2 separate regions of the Homo sapiens genome follow, and region 1 is linked to region 2. Evidence: promoter capture Hi-C in human tissues and cell types (Jung and others, 2019). All regions are on one chromosome and are shown on one strand. Each heading gives the region's core, a stretch centred on a gene start or on the middle of the fragment in contact. The rest is flanking DNA. Distances are from core to core; before and after follow the strand shown.

Region 1 (3,754 bases), core at 675-3,174, 41 kb before region 2:
TCTAGCTGAGAGATGAATTTAAATATTTTTCCCCAAGCATTGGCTTCTGTGGCCACTTGAAACCTGCACGTTGTGCACATGTGCCCTAGAACTTAAAGTATAATAAAAAATAAATAAATAAATAAAAATAAATTTAAAAAAAAAGAAATCCTACTAACATTTCTCTGGAATCTTCCTTAGGCTTCAAACTTAAGCTAGCTCAAAGCCTATTTTGGAGAATTGGACTTTAGTTTATATATAAAGAAAATAAAATTTTTAAAAAGTACACACACTGGAGCTATATTCTGAATGAGTGGCAAAATTTATCACTTTTATTTGGGAAGGTTTGTTTCTGTGTCTTATTGTTATTCTGTTAAAGAAACAGCCTCTGGGCTAGTCTGGAAGAAAGAGATTGAGAAAAAGCAGGCGTTAAATTGTGTTATATAATAAAGTAACAGGGATTCTTGATTTGTCCCCTGGCAACCAGGGGGAAAGGAAGTATTAGAGACCCCAGGAAATATGAAGGAAGTGAGAAGATGGGAAGTTTAAGTCCCCAGAAACCTGAGACATTTGGGGTTGAAAAGAAAGATAACCCCTAACGGATTCCCCTGCATAGGGGCTGGCCAAATCCTTCAGGAATAGAAGTAGAAAATGTGGACCTGCCCAAAGCTACATAGCATGAAGGACGTGGCTAAAATTAGATGTGTAACTAGAATATTAGAGACTCAGAGATCTATAGATTGTGTATAATATACAGTTTTTTTCTTCTTTAAAAAGTAAGTACCATTTCACCTTCTAACAATATTTATGTAGAAAATTATCATTGCCATACTTTTGATAGGTCATTCTCTTCAATTCAAAGAAAACCAAAGCAAAGAATTGGTTATTCTCTGCCAGTCCAAATCATACAGAAATGTTTAGACACTGACAAAAGAATCTTATTCTATTTTACATCTCTGAGTGGTATCTAAACATTCCTATGAAAGAGTACATGTAGAGTAAGTCATGTTGGTTTCTGGCTACCCCATTAGCCACAGTCCTCCTGTACCTCTCTTCCATCAAAGAGGACACAGGCATGACCCTCTATTATCCAGATGACATAAAATGAGATTGAATTTAAGGAATACCATAACTCACACCCTCATAAACATTGGGCCCTTTGCTGTTGAGTTCAGCATCACTGGGCTGAATTATTCTCAATACTAGACTCCTGACAGTCACAGCGAGTAATTAGAACTGGGTCGTGAGATGCAGTGGACTCCTCTTGTTTCTGTTTCTCTTCCTCTGAGCTCACCTGTCACTACAGACATTGCTACAGCCAGCTCCTCTGCTCACCTCATGTGAGCTTCACCACTTTTCTCTCGCTTTCTGACTTTGGTAGTTTTTCTGCTACCACCTTGAAGGACCCCTTGAGACCCTGCCACACTTCCACACTTGTGTAACCTGGAAGTGCAAGCGAGTTAATGCCAGAGGGCAAGTCTTCATCAATGGAGAATGGGAGCGGGTGGATAAATGCCCCCACCCATCCCCTGGATGGTCCACTCTGAGGCATAGACTACACTGATTATCAGAGTCTCAGTTGCCCACAGCAGTGACTAACTCAAGAATGCATCCTTGTGCTGGCTTTGTCACTGTCTCTGCTTCACTCGCCACTGTCCTCCACTTCAATTCCTGGGATCTCTTCCTCAGATGAAGTCTGTAAAAAAGTTTTTGCTTTTTGAGAATACCAGACTATGCAAACCATAATCTAACTGGTGAAGCATGGGTCACTTTTGTTAAAAAAAAATAATTTGACTGTTATTTTGTTATGCTTATTTTACAGTCTCTCCCTCAAGAAATCCATAAAAAACAAACATATGGCATGATAAATTGTCCTTTACACCTCTTCACTGCCTGAAAGAAAATATTGTCATGTAGATAAATTTCATCTCGAATTAATTGGCTTCATGTTTGCATTTTTAAAAATAATCTGTAGATGTTCAAATATTTCCACTTGGTTTTATTGTTGACAATTTAAAGTAAACAGAACATTCCAACTTATCTTTTAATTAATTTAACTTTAGATCTGGCTTTACATTTATTCCTCTTTAATATATTAGCTTATTTTTACACTTGGCACTTGTTTTTTAAGAATTCTATGAGATGATTTTGATAGAACCTGATGTCAAGCTTCCCAGAATTGTCCCTGCCCTCTTGGAAATTCTGGTCATTTATGCATATCCTGTCCTCATTATGCTTTAAAACAAAAAGGAGGCATCTGAGATGCCTCAGTAAAATCAAGACAGGTTTCCTGTCTGCGGTTGCTGCCTGGTTTCTGGGAGTCCATGGAAATGGGAGTTGGAGTCCATGGAAATAGATTAGCAATTATGCTATTCCTTCAGTGGCCATTTGTGATGAGGGCCTGGCAAATAAGTAACAAATATATATATATATATATATTTGTTATCCCAAATATATATATATATATATATTTGTTATCCCAAATATATATATATATATATATATTTGTTATCCCAAATATATATATTATATATATATATATTATCCCACAGGTTAGTATTAGAATATTGCCCCGGCCCATCTGACCTGTGAAAGCAAGTGTTTCTGTACCTGTTTCATCACTTCACCCTTGTGCACTCCCACCTTCATCATTCAGCAGCTGTCTCCATTCTCATCCCATTACTGCACCTAGGATATATTTTCAATGTGGTGCTGGATACCACCTGCCCAGAGACCTGACTACCACAATCTTTTACTTAGCTGGGGCTGTCTAGGCAGAGAGACAAAGGGTGTAAAGGGATGGTTTGTTTCACAGGGCCATGGAAAAGTCACCTTTTGTCACCTACAACCATTTGTTTTTTTCTTTGAAAGAATGTCTTGGTTACTAAGAGGACTCCTTAGTAACATGAAGAAAGGATAGGTCCTCATGGTATTTTTTTTGTTGTTGTTGTTATTCTAATAACCCACTCACCCTTTAGTACAGTCTTAAAAGTTCAAGCCTAGTGCTTTATAACTTGCTGTCTAATGCTTTTGTAATGTAAAGTAACTTTTACATGATTCCAAAGGAAAAGGAAGAGGCCCCTTTAAGAAGTAAGCTTGTGATAACTTGTGATCGGTTAACCGATTACTTCCTGTAAGTGAGTTAGGAGCATACTTCTAACTGTGATCAAGTGGATGTTACCTGGTTCTGCTTTGATAAAAGCTGTTCAGAGTCAAGTAGCAGTGATGATTTAAGGTTGAATCAGTGGTAGGCCACAGTGACCTCTAAAATGAAGTAATGAGTCATTAATGGTCTTAGGAAAATTTTGATGAGGTTACTTATATTCTTTAGTTGTGGTAAAGAATAAAGGACAATCCTTGAACACACTGTGAAAGTCCTGTGGCAACTCAGAAATGAGAAAAATTAAAGTGCTTCCCTAGAAAGAAAAGCATGTATATCAGTAAGTAAGGCTTATAACCATTTCTCACTGACAAAGGAAATAATTGCTGTTTGGCGTACTCATAGCCTTTAATCTAAATCTCAGTGTTGGAAATTTTTCTTTAAGATCATCTAAAAAGCTATGTAAATAAAAAAATACTTGCACCTTTATTTATAATAGTGAGACGTTAGAAACATCCTGAATAGCACATTACATGGTTATTGGTTAGATAAATTATAATACATTAATTTAATAGAATAGTGTGCAGAAAAGGAATTTTGTGCAGAAAATATTGTAAAGACCACTCAGCTATTATTCAACATGGAAAACATTGATGATATCTTACTGAAAGACAA
Region 2 (3,799 bases), core at 1,121-3,620:
AAAGAGAGTCTTATTCAGTTTTTTGGCTACTTGAACACATTTCGTTGCTGCATCAAGCTATGCAAATATTTAATAAAGGATTCCAAGTACAAAAATATAAATAATAGTGGCATCAAAACCTGTCTACAAGTGGAGATGCAATTTGGAACTTGCCCATATTCCCACAGCTGTTTCAGCTTAAGATAAGTGCTTGAGCTGTTGTGTTTTTGGTTTTTTTGTTTTTCTGTCCCACTCAAGTGCAACTGCTAGAGTCTATACTTGGATCATCCTTGAATATTCTCTAAGAACCCAGGCCCCATCCTCTTCATTGGAAGATCATAAATATTGCATGTCTTCACATAGCTGTTTCTCAAAGGTCTGAAAAAAATATTTGGTCATAACAGGAAGTCTCAAATTCTCGACCATCTATAGGTAATGTATAGACAATGGGAGAAATAGTAGGAGAGCTAATATGGTGCCTCCAAACAGGCCACATAACTGACACAGGGTTTGCCAGGACTGTTTCAGATCCCTCATAATGGTGTTGATTTTAGAGAAGCAAAATTGATACCTATTAGACATCCAAATGGAGAAACCAAATAGGCAATTGAATAGGAGAATCTGGCTCTTGGAAGAAAGTTTGTGCTAGAGATAGAATTGGAAATCTGTCCTGTGATTTAATGCAGTCTCCTAGACGAAGAGGGCAAAGGATGACAGCAGAGCCTAGGATCACTCATGACTTTCAGAGTTGCCCGTTCTGCTTATAAATGCAGGGCAGGCTGGGCGCAATGGCTCACTCCTGTAATCCCAGCACTATGGGAGACCGAGGTGGGTGGATCACTTGAGGTCAGGAGTTTGAGACCAGCCTGGCCAACATGGAGAAACCCCATCTTCACCAAAAATAGAAAAAATTAGCTGAGTGTGGTGGCGTGTGCCTGTGATCCCAGCTACTCAGAAGACTGAGGCAGCAGAATCGCTTGAACCTGGGAGGCCGAGGTTGCAGTGAGCCGAGATGGCACCACTGCACTCCAGCCTGGGAGACAGTGTGACTCTGTCTCAATAAATAAAGTAATTAATTAATTAATTAAAATAAAATAAACGCAGGGGGAGGAGGCCAAAAAGGTTTTTTATAACAAACTATCATTTTTAACACCTCATAAATTCCCATTCTATTACATTTGTAACCAACTCTCTTACTCCCAACTTTCCCAAACACGGTGGCTTCATTCCCTAGTCCTTTTAGAGTGTCGGGAGAGGAAAAGGAGGTTAGTATGACAGGGTAATGTGTCTCAACCACTGTCATTAATTTAATAAATATTGAGTAGTGAAAAAGTAGGAATCACAAAGCTGCATCAGACAGGGTCCCTACCCTGATCTCTTTCAGGAAAGGGGGGAGTCAGAGAGGGATAATATAAAAACATAAATAGCTATAGAATAGTACCATGAAAGACCAAGGCCTTATTTGGAAGAAGTGAGGAGAAGTAATCAAGGAAGACCTTTTGCAGCAGACAGCTTGTGCCAGACATTTGAGGGTAGAATGGAATGTCTTAGGTAAAGATTTGGAGTAAGGACATTTCGTACAGGGCAGAGTGAACAAATTCTCTGATCACCGCAAAAGGTAAGGCAAACTGACAAATTGATCCCTTTTTAATTTTGTTTTTAATTAACAGAACTAAACCTAACGGAAAGAATGTGTTGCCGGAGAAGAACGAATTGATGGCCTTTTATTACCACAGGAAAAAGTAAATGTATCTGGGCAGCCCCTCAAGTCTCAGCAAAAGGAACGTACAGTTCCTGCCATGTGCCGGTCTCTTCTGAAGAAAAGGGGGCGGTGGGGGTGGGGGCGCAGGTCTTTAGGTTGTTTATTCCTTTCTCTCTGTCCAGTGGCAGAGAAGCCCATACTTTTGAACGCAGCTTGTTGGCTACTGTAAAAGCCCTGCTCTGAGCAAGGACCAATGAGCACGCGGAGTCCAAACTCTTGGAAACAGTTTGTGGCCAGGAGTACTTGACATTGAGACAGCCTCCGAGTTGTAAACAAGGGCGAGCCTGGGCGGGACCCCAGCCCACGCGACTCGGAGCCCCGTCCCAAGAGGCTAATCTTAAGCCCACGTTGCCCCAGATACCTGTTTCTGCTTCCTCTTCCCTGTTCTTCCCACCCTTTTTCCGTCACAGCCGCGGGCACCGGTGCCAGGGCACTCCGTGGTCACCGTGCCAGGCCATTCTGTGATGACCGCGGCTGGAGGGGCGGAGCCCATAGTTCTTTCTCTGATCTGATTGGCGCGACCTGGAGTTCAGGACGCGTTTCCAAGTTCCAGTGACTCCTCCTGTTTGGGACTCGGGGGGAGAGTGCGGGGAGACAAATAAAACCTCGGGCGGCGGCGGCTGGTGGGAAGACTTGAACTTGAATCTCGAACCACTGCATCTCCGACTCTGCCCAGACTCTTCACTCCGCGGCACCCTCAAACCCCAGCCCAGGCCGGGGCGCACAAGCCAGCCAGCGCACCTGCAGTCCTCGCCCGGACGCGCCGCGCCCCCTCGGAACCAGGCTCTGCTCCGAGCAGCCTTCGCCCCTCAAGCCAGCCACAGTCCCCGCCAGGCCGGGTGGGCGTCAAGATGAAGGCGGCCCGCTTCGTGCTGCGCAGCGCTGGCTCGCTCAACGGCGCCGGCCTGGTGCCCCGAGAGGTGGAGCATTTCTCGCGCTACAGCCCGTCCCCGCTGTCCATGAAGCAGCTACTGGACTTTGGTGAGAGGGGACACAGGGCCCAAGCTGGGTCCTAGGGTTGGGGAACTGCCTTAACTTTCAGCCTTGGTAGAGGGAGGGCTAGGCTCAAGCTAAAACAACTGGGGTTCACTTTGCTGCTGAGCCCTGGAGCCTCGACGCCAGCACACCTTTCCTTTTCCTAGATTTGGTTACTTTCTGACAGGGGTGCCTCCAGGTCAAGGCCACCTGCAAGCCTGCCGACGCTGGATGGTTTGACTTCATCTGCACACTCTTCTTTCTGACCCGCTCTTCCAGTCAAAATACTTTTTGCTTTCGGTCACCGTTTAACAATGGACTGGAAACTTTATCCTCTCCTTCACAGCATAGTACTGCTTGGAGAAGTTTCTGAATAGTATTAAATAGCCTCAAATTAACAGATTTTATTCCTTAGCCACCTGGCATCCTTCCACAGGGTACATCTCTCTGCATTCCTGACAGATTTCTTTGTCTCTTTATCATTATAGTTTTCCATATATTTGCATTGTTGCTGAAAATATTTACACATTTGTTGCAGTAATCTTATAAGGAAGATTTCAAGGGTTTAAATGTGATATCACTACTCTGGAAATATCACAGCTCCCCCTCCAGCCTCTTATCCCCCAACTCCAATTCCATGTCCCCACTCATTAAAGGATGTTGTGTTGTTGACATTGTGGTGTGACCGAATCCTGCAGTCTTTTATAAATTCTAAGAACTGTGGGATATTCTTACTTCTTGGAAGTGAATCCTCTTCAAAAAGAGAAGACAATAATTCTCCTATATCTGTCACTTTTTAAAAGAAAGAAGGAAAGACGAAAGGACGAAGGGAATTAGTCAATTAAGGAGACAATCGCCCCTGAATTATCGATTAACAGTAACCCAACTGAGAGTGAAATATAATTTTATAATATATGTGTGTTCAATATTTGATAGTTAATGCTATTTAGATATATCATTTAGACACACTTTTTCTCAAAACTAAATTGATTTCATTTATTATAGGTTCAGAAAATGCATGTGAAAGAACTTCTTTTGCATTTTTGCGACAAGAATTGCCTGTGAGACTCGCCAACATTCTGA

What was found. The method cuts DNA at HindIII sites, captures the fragments that hold promoters and counts their contacts. A contact is called where the count stands out against the background at its distance.
Region 1: a contact is called between a fragment that was not itself captured here and the fragment with the promoter of PDK4 in region 2, in 2 of the 25 tissues and cell types used here (H1 embryonic stem cells and heart right ventricle).

Annotation. Positions count from the first base shown.
Region 1 is chr7:95,635,789-95,639,542 of GRCh38, reverse strand. No RefSeq gene overlaps it. Among named protein-coding and RNA genes, the nearest start is that of PDK4-AS1, 41 kb to the right of the region's middle. The HindIII fragment of the contact is 6,474 bases long and covers 1-3,754 here.
Region 2 is chr7:95,595,087-95,598,885 of GRCh38, reverse strand. PDK4 (pyruvate dehydrogenase kinase 4) reads left to right here and starts at 2,370. Exons shown (of 11, transcript NM_002612.4): 1 at 2,370-2,722; 2 at 3,722-3,799. The coding sequence starts at 2,593. PDK4-AS1 (PDK4 antisense RNA 1) reads right to left here and starts at 2,207. Exons shown (of 3, transcript XR_001745287.3): 1 at 2,103-2,207. RefSeq lists a silencer at 2,795-3,089. The HindIII fragment of the contact is 14,852 bases long and covers 1-3,799 here.